Linked DNA regions of Homo sapiens: regions 1 and 3 are each linked to region 2. The links are contacts of gene promoters, found by promoter capture Hi-C in blood cells and fetal thymus (Javierre and others, 2016). All regions are on one chromosome and are shown on one strand. Each heading gives the region's core, a stretch centred on a gene start or on the middle of the fragment in contact. The rest is flanking DNA. Distances are from core to core; before and after follow the strand shown.

Region 1 (2,700 bases), core at 24-2,523, 1.0 Mb before region 2:
CTGCACTCCAGCCTGGGTGACAGAGCAAGACTCCGTCTCAAAAAAAAAAGAAAAGTTCAAAAAGGGTGTGAGGTTGTTAGTTTTCAACATCAAGCTGCCTGGTATGCAGTCTGAGTTTGCCATTTAGTAGGTGATCTTGGGCAAGTGACTTACTTGTCCTAAACTTCAGTTTCCCCCCACTCCATAAAATGAGACTACTAATGATAATATCTATCTCACAGTTGTTGTCAGGATTAAATGGATGTTGTCAGAATACGTGAAAAGCAATTTACCTAGTTCTTGCTATATTGCACATGCTCAATAAATGTTAATTTTTTTGTCATTATTACATCTCCTGGTCTGATTCCTCCATGCCATCTCCTCAGTATGAGCAAGTCTTCCTCCAAGCTTCTTTCTGGATATCTTATCTAAAAAGGGCCACTGAGTTTTACATCCTAATTCAGAATTATAAAACACAGGTTTGAAATTCTACTTCCCCCTCACACTACATTATATATATATATTTTTTTAAACAGGGTCTTGCTCTATTGCCCAGGCTGGAGTGCAGTGGCGCAATCATGGCTCACTGCAGCGTTGATCTCCCAGGCTCAAGCAATACCCCCACCTCAGCCTCCTTAGTATCTAGGACTACAGGCCAGCGCCATCGCACTTGGCTAATTTTTGTATTTTTGTAAAGACAGGATTTTGCCATGTTGCCCAGGCTGGTCTCAAACTCCTGGGCTCAAGTGATCCATCCAGCCTCCCAAAGTGATGGGATTACAGGCGTGAACCCAGCCTGTTCTATTCTTTATTGTATACCCAGGAGGAAATCCTAAACTTAAAAGATTGGGTTAAATAAAAATTCAGAAATGCCTATCTTTTCCTCCAAACTAGGAGTAATGTAAGATTACCATGAGTCGTGGTGGAGTGGAGTTCAATTCACCACAGAATCTGAGACAGGAAGACCTGCCAGGCCATCAGCCCCTTCCCACCACTCCTGCAGCATTCATTTTCAGGAGCAAAAGAGCCTTCCCACAATTACTGAGTCCAACACTTAGTTTCCAGGATAAGCCCACACCCAACCATTCTGTCCTGTGGTTCCCAGTGATACACTCACACTTGTTAGAATGTGCCACTTTGGGGTTCAGAAAATGCAATCACTGAGAGAAGCCCGAGTTGTAGTTATGCTCTCCTTTCGTTCCATACTTCCCCCTCTCTTGCCACATCTATCCACTAGAGGGAGGAAGGCCTAGAACCTCTTTAGCCAGAGTGGAGCAGTGGCAAGGATCAGTAGTGTGGCTTCTTAACCAAGCCAGCAGTGGGGATGTCAGAAGCACCGGAACATAATCGCCTCATTCTCTCGGAACAGAAAAGAGGAAGGGTCCCTTCCTTCCCCTTTTCAACCCTCTCTGCATGGATTGGCATGTCACCATGATCTGGTGCACTCACTTCCCTCAAGTCAGTGTGCAGGCTGCTTAAAAAATTCAGAGGAACATGTACTGGGGTCTTAGGAACATTTTCAGCCAGTGGAGAGGAAAAGGAAAACTAAGTATCTCTTGGATCATTCACAGAGTTCACCAAATACAACTGAAAACTGGGGGCTCTAATGTCCCTGCTGCCCTGATGGTATTAGTTTAAGATGTTGACACTGACATCTGCAGAGATCTCATCCATCACGGTATATCAAAGAGCAAATGTCATTCTAGTTGAGAAACTCATGTATGAGAAAGAATGGTCATCTTGGGAAATCTGTAGCTCCAGCGGCTCCTGATGTTTTTTCCTGCCTCCTCCTGTCCCATGCTTGTGCCCCAGGCAGAGCTCATTCCTAAAACCATAGCTGACCCTCTGTGCTGTCTTTTAAGTTATAATAGTAGCTGCCAACTGTTGAATATTTTGCTTTATGACAGGCACTACACTAAGCACGTTAACATATCTCACTGAAGCCTCACACCAAAGCTATGAACTAGATACAATCTATCTGTAGATAATAATATATATCCATCTGTAGATATCCATCTTATATCCATCTGTAGATGAAGAAACTCAGGTTGAGTAAGCTATCTAAGGTCACAGAGCCAATAAGTGCTAGAGGCAAGATTCTTATTCTGTACACTCTGCCTCCAAAGCCCACTTCTTTGACCCTAAGGGCACAAGAACCCAAATCAGGATGTGAAGCTTGGTCTTTGAAACCAAAGGAAGCTCCTGAATCATCCTGATAGGCTGACGGCTTGGCGCTGTAAACAAAATCAGTCTTTTGTCAAAAGGAAATGAAGTTGCCATGCCACTGTTCACTCCTGTAAGAGACTCCTCTGGGCTGTTCCATTCTCTTGCTGCAATTCAGCCGGTTGAAAAACTAAGGTGACTGCACAATGATTAACTTCAGGCCCTTCTGCTCTACTTTGAGCCTGTCTCTGGTTCATCGTTACACTCTCCGCTCAGCACCCGCAGACTCAAGAGATTTCCAATCCCCCAATTTAGCGTGGTTCTACCTTAGGCAGAACTCCCATCCAGTTCGGATATAAGCGGGTCGAAGTGGCAGGGACCACCTCGCTGGGAGGAGAGGCTGGAGCTGCGGTCTTAAAAGATCTTGGGGCCGGGCGCGATGGCTCACGCCTGTAATCCCAACACGTTGGGAGGCCGAAGCGGGTAGATTATTTGAGCCCTGGAGCTCGAGACCACCCTGACCAACACGGTGAAACCCAGTCTGTACTAAAAATACAA
Region 2 (2,700 bases), core at 74-2,573:
TGCCACCACGCCCGGCTAATATTTGTATTTTTAGTAGAGACGGGGTTTCACCATACTGGCCAGGCTGGTCTTGAACTCCTGACCTCGTGATCCGCCTCGGCCTTCCAAAGTGCTGGGATTACAGGCGTGAGCCACCACACCCGGCCTTATTTTTCTAAGATCTTTAACTCAACATAGTTAAATATTTTAACTCTCTGCTAACCTGTGTCATTATAGTACATCAAACAGCTATTTACAGTGTGCTGAGTCCTACATATCTGAGCACAATCCAGAATGGAGGATAACTGCTTTGAAGAAGATAAGTTTGAAGAGCCAGGAGACCCTAAAACTTATATTTTGTATGCCATTTATGGGAGAGGGGAACATAAAACATGCAACAAGGCTAGGATACCAGAGTAGTAATTTAAGGTCCTGGGCACTTTCACAAATTGAGGACATCTTGGTTGTTGCTCTTACACAATAAAACAAATGATTAACCGAAATATCAAGATTTGATTTTTTACCTATGACCCTAGAAACTTTAAACTCTGGCAACCTGAGACTTCTGACAGCAATTACATCGTTTTATAATTATCTATGTGTCTGGTTTATTCATACTCAATAAACGCTGGATGTAACAATGAATTTCTGTCCATGGCTTTTCAGAGAACACATGCTATTACCTCTTCCTATTTCCCAGGTAATTTTTGTCCCCCTCTACCCTCAAGAAAGAATTCCAAGAAGGAAAACAAGGCCCCACGCAATAAAGAAGCTTATCCAGACCCCTTGGCTAAAATCTATGTTCCATTCATTTAAAATGCTTCACTCTGTGGACACATATCATGATACAAGTAAAACCTCAAGAATGACACTCCCTCAAATGCCTATTCTTCAGTTCCTCAACGCAGGAACTGAGCAAGGCGAGACGGAGGGACGCGCCCAAGGTCACCTCGACGAACAGGGGGGATTATAACTGGCCCCGCATAAAGTCGATTACGCCCTGCGTTGGGAGGAGGTTCCGAGGTTCTATCAAACTCAAGTCTGGACCTCCTTACCATCCATCACAAGGTCACACGGGTGCTGGGTTGGGAGAGGGAGGCTCACGCGGCCGGGGAGGTACTAAGTACAGGGCTAAGAAGCCGACTGGCCGCGAAAGACCGCATTGCCCAGTTACCAGGCCCAAGTCGACGAGGCTGCGGTTGAGTCTGGCTTGCACCTTGGGAGCCTGGACAAGGGAGAAGGAGGGCAGTGGGCAGGGGGGCAAGAGAAATGCAAAGACAGCGGTGAAGCTCACCAAGGCTCTCGCGCGTACTCCTCCATCTTGACTCCAATGCCGCGAGTGATGCCGGGCAAGCTGGGCGGAGCCTGACCCCAGAGGCGGAAGTGATCCCGAGAGGAGGGCGTTAAGGTCTATGAGCATTGGTTCACCATTTCCCGCTGCAGCCAATGGGAGCCAGGACTCCTGTGGCCAGCGTGTGGTCGGGGCATTGGCCGCGGCGTGGCGAGACTGGCCCTGCCCACGTCCTCAAAGGCCGCGAGTCCCGGCTGTGTGGGCGGGGGGCTACCAATGACGGAGTCACACTACCCGGTCACCAGAGGTTCCGTGGACTGAAATCAACGCGATACTGCCTAAATACGCTTCTTTCTTTCCCTTCCCTTCCGCCTTCCCTTCCCCCTTCCCTTCCCCCTTTCCTTTTCTTCTCTCCTTCCATCCTTTTTCTTTCTTTCTTTTTCTTTTCTTCTTCTTTTTTTTTTTGAGACAGAGTCTGGCTCTGTCGCCCAGGCTGGAGTGCAGCGGCGAGATCTCGGCTCACTGCAACCTCCGCCTCCCGAGTTCAAGCGATTCTCCTGCCTTAGCCTCCTGAGTAGCTGGGACTACAGGCGGGCGCCACCAGGTCCGGCTAATTTTTATGTTTTTTTAGTAGAGACGGGGTTTCGCCATGTTGATCAGGCTGGACTCGAACTCCTGACCTCGTGATCCGCCCACCTCGGCCTCCCAGAGTGCTAGAATTACAGGCGTGAGCCGCCGCACCCGGCCTCTTTCTTTCTCTTCTTTTCTTTTCTTTCCTTTCTCTCTCTTCTTTTTCTTTCTTTCTTTTTTGGTACTTTTGCTGTCAAATGTGGATTAATGCTATCTTATTCGTCACTTACTGTGAAGCTGTTACCAAATACACGTAGCTCCTTTAGGGCAAACAGTGTCTCAGTGATTTATAATAACCACAGTGCCTGGAATGTAGTAGATGCTCAATAAATGTTTGTGAACTGGAACTGTTTGGGCCATCTGGAGAGCCATGACCAATTTGGAGCCCTCGATTTCAGGGACATTGACACCAGAGCCTCTCACAGGCCTCTCCACTAATGATCACCAGAAGGTGTGAAGATGTTTGGCTCGGAGAAGAGGGGACTTATGGGGACCAGGCCGGGCGTGGTGACACGTGCCTGTAGCCCTGACTGTTCGGGAGACTGAGGCGGGAAGATAGCTTGAGCCCAGGAGATCTACCCCGCAGGGAGCTGTGATCATGCCACTGCACTCTAGTGACAGAGTGAGACACTGTCAAAAAAAAAAAAAAAAAAAGGTTGGGACCCATGGAGCTTTTAGTTTACTGTCAACAAAATCCCAATCATGTGATGGCTGTTAAAGTGCTCCTCTCCATTCTGTACGTTTGTAATTAACTTTAAAAATATGTATATATTTATTTTACGGAAAAGTCAATGTCATAA
Region 3 (2,700 bases), core at 201-2,700, 1.3 Mb after region 2:
ATGCTCCTACTAGCCTTATTAGTAATTACTAGGGGCAGATTCAGGTTTTATGGGGTATGAGCTTATATAATTGGAAAAGAGGAGGCTTTTAAAGAAAAAGATTCAGAATGATGAATACAAATTAGGTTCAAAAGTGACTAATTTTTATAATGGCAAAAGAAATTACAACAATTAGAAATGTCACAAAACCCAGGAAAAGAGTTCTGTTATAGGTATGTGACCTACGAACTTGGGAAGTCTGATACATTTAGTCTGTGTGGTTCCCATCAATAAAGAAAATACTTAAAGTGCATTTATAATCCTATCCGCTACAGTATTGAATACATTCCTGACAGGAGAAAACTTCCTTTTGACTAGGCAGTAAGAAATAAATGTTCTGTTACTACACGTAACAACTTGGATGAACCAAAAAAACAAATGTTGAGTGATAAAAAGCGAATTCCAGGCTATATGTATTTTTATAAAGCTCAAAAAGAAGAAAAATACACCAATACACAGGAATGCATCCAAATATGATAAAACCACTAAAAATGGCAAAGAGGGACAAAACTGAAGATAGTGGTGGTGAGCTAAGAGGCCAGGAGTAGAATCCTGGAGATGCATAGATACATGCTAAATACTGATAACGTGGTGGAGTGATAGTTTCATTAGCATACTTTAAATTTTACATATTTGGTAAATATGCTCTTTTGAATGCATCGACTATTACACTGAAAATATTTTTAAATACTTAAGGCACCTGAATATAAGCTGGCTTCCCTCCTTCCTCTCCCGTGCTGTCTCCTCTCCCCCATCACTTCTCAACTACAAGCTGCTTGGGACACGTGGCTCCAGAGGTTGGCAAAACAGGGAAATGTCAGCCCACAAGGAACAAGAACCGTGACTTGTGTTATTTTCTTGTTGGTGTTGGGGTGGGGGGAGGGGTGCGGTGGTGCAGGAAATATTATCCAGCTTATCATATATGCCACATCAAGCTGACTCCGTTTAAATTTTGAGTGGCTCTACTAGCTAAAGCCAGAAAAGGGTTTTTGGGCCCAACGGGCAGAAGTGCCCCTCCCTTTTACACTCACACTTCCCACTTTCTAAGGGTGCCAGGCCCCCGCGCCGCCCTCCTGCTTCTTTCCGGACGGTCCAACTCTTTTCCACCAGTCCCAGCCCATTCGATTACGTAAATTCTTCCAAGAGGATTCCCAAACGTGCCCCTCCGTCCAGAACTCGCCCAGCCCGGACCAGTTCCGAGATTTACCACCAGCCCAGAGCTGGGCGGGGGCGTGGAAAACGCGAGGAGCCTTCCCGCCCCTCTCCTTCTCCCTCCCTCCCTCCCAAGCCACTGCCGGCTCCCAGCCGAGCTCCGCCCCCGCGGTGGCCCCGCCTCCCCGCCGCCCGGAAAGCGGGCTGCGGCCCCCTCCCAAAACCCGGGGAAGTGGATTCTACTCTACGCTCCGCTCCGCTCCGCTCCGCACCACCAACCCCGGGCCGCAGTCCTGACGAGCGGGTCAGGGCTTGTCGGGCGGAAGCCTGGCCTGGAGCCTGGAAGGGGGAGACGGCCCGAGCGGGAGCGGGAGCGGACGCGGCCTCAGTCCTGCGCGGGTGAGCGTGCCCCGGAAGCTTGGGCCCCTGGCCGCCCTGGTGCCCCTTCTCCGGGACCTGGGGCGCTAGGCCGCGGCGGCAGAACTGGTGCCCCTGCGCGGCCTTCCTCCCATCCTTACAGTTCCCCGTGTCCCAGGCCTCTACCCGGAACCGGAGCCCCGCCCGTCTCCTAGCAGCTCCGTGACGTGAAGCGCCTCGGGGTGCGGTGCCGCCGGGCGTGGGTGGGAGGCAACGCCCGAGGGGAGGGCCCGCCAGTGCACGGGGGTGCGGGGCGCGTTGGCGAGAATTGGAGGCCGCGCCGCCGCCAGCCGTCCGCCGTCCCGCCCAGCAGGAGCACGTTCCCTTTCGCCATTGGAAGACTGAGTTCCAAGCTTTTTCCTGCTCACCTAGAGCCGTCCCTGCCCCGCCCGCCACCCCCTGTACATTTTCGGAGATTTAGGATAGTAATTCTAGACCCTCGGTTGCATTTCTGTTGGAATTTTTCTGGAAGTTGGAATCTGGCAGTTTAAACAAAGAATTTTTTTAAGAAAAATATTTATTAGTATATTTGATAGTCCCCAGATTAGGTTAAAAGCCTTATTCCCAATAACTGTAATTTTGCAAAGACATGTTTTTGGTGTAAAAAGGTATAGATATGGGTTGATGAAAAGAATCAAACTCTGAAAAATATTTGAAGAGATTTATTTTGAGCCAGATTCAAGTGACCATGGCCAGTGACAGTCCTCAGGAGGTCCTGAGAACATGTGCCCAAGGAAATTGGGGTACAGCTTGGTTTTATCTATTTTAGGAAGGCGTGAGACATCAAATACATTTAAGAAATACATTGGTTTAGTTTAGAAAGGCGGGGCAACTCAATCGGTAAATGTAAACGTTATCTGGTTGAGGTTATCTAAAGACCTGGGATCCATAAAAAGGAATGTTCAGGCTAGAGATAAAGGATTGTGGAGACCAAGTTTTATTGTGCAGAGGAAGCTCTTAGATAGACTTTAGAGAGAGCAGGTTGTAAATTGTTTTATATTGGACTTAAAAGGGTGCCTGGCTCTTAGTTGATTATCTCCTGGATCTGGGAAGGAAGGAGGGAAAACAAGGGGAGATGGGAATTCTCACCAA

What was found. The method cuts DNA at HindIII sites, captures the fragments that hold promoters and counts their contacts. A CHiCAGO score of 5 or more calls a contact.
Region 1: a fragment that was not itself captured here is called in contact with the fragment with the promoter of TIMM17A in region 2 in 3 of 17 cell types (fetal thymus, non-activated CD4 T cells and total CD8 T cells); the score reaches 6.8 in fetal thymus.
Region 3: the fragment with the promoter of DDX59 here is called in contact with the fragment with the promoter of TIMM17A in region 2 in 2 of 17 cell types (fetal thymus and naive CD8 T cells); the score reaches 8.0 in fetal thymus.

The regions. Positions count from the first base shown.
Region 1 is chr1:202,967,687-202,970,386 of GRCh38, reverse strand. No RefSeq gene overlaps it. Among named protein-coding and RNA genes, the nearest start is that of CYB5R1, 1.8 kb to the right of the region's middle. RefSeq lists a silencer at 2,032-2,326. The HindIII fragment of the contact is 1,767 bases long and covers 390-2,156 here.
Region 2 is chr1:201,954,126-201,956,825 of GRCh38, reverse strand. TIMM17A (translocase of inner mitochondrial membrane 17A) reads right to left here and starts at 1,323. Exons shown (of 6, transcript NM_006335.3): 1 at 1,274-1,323. The coding sequence starts at 1,299. RefSeq lists an enhancer at 1,045-1,334. The HindIII fragment of the contact is 2,275 bases long and covers 754-2,700 here.
Region 3 is chr1:200,668,657-200,671,356 of GRCh38, reverse strand. DDX59 (DEAD-box helicase 59) reads left to right here and starts at 1,450. Exons shown (of 8, transcript NM_001031725.6): 1 at 1,450-1,590. It overlaps DDX59-AS1 (DDX59 antisense RNA 1), which reads right to left and starts at 1,850. Exons shown (of 3, transcript NR_110787.1): 1 at 1,735-1,850. RefSeq lists a silencer at 1,297-2,036. The HindIII fragment of the contact is 3,439 bases long and covers 1-1,610 here.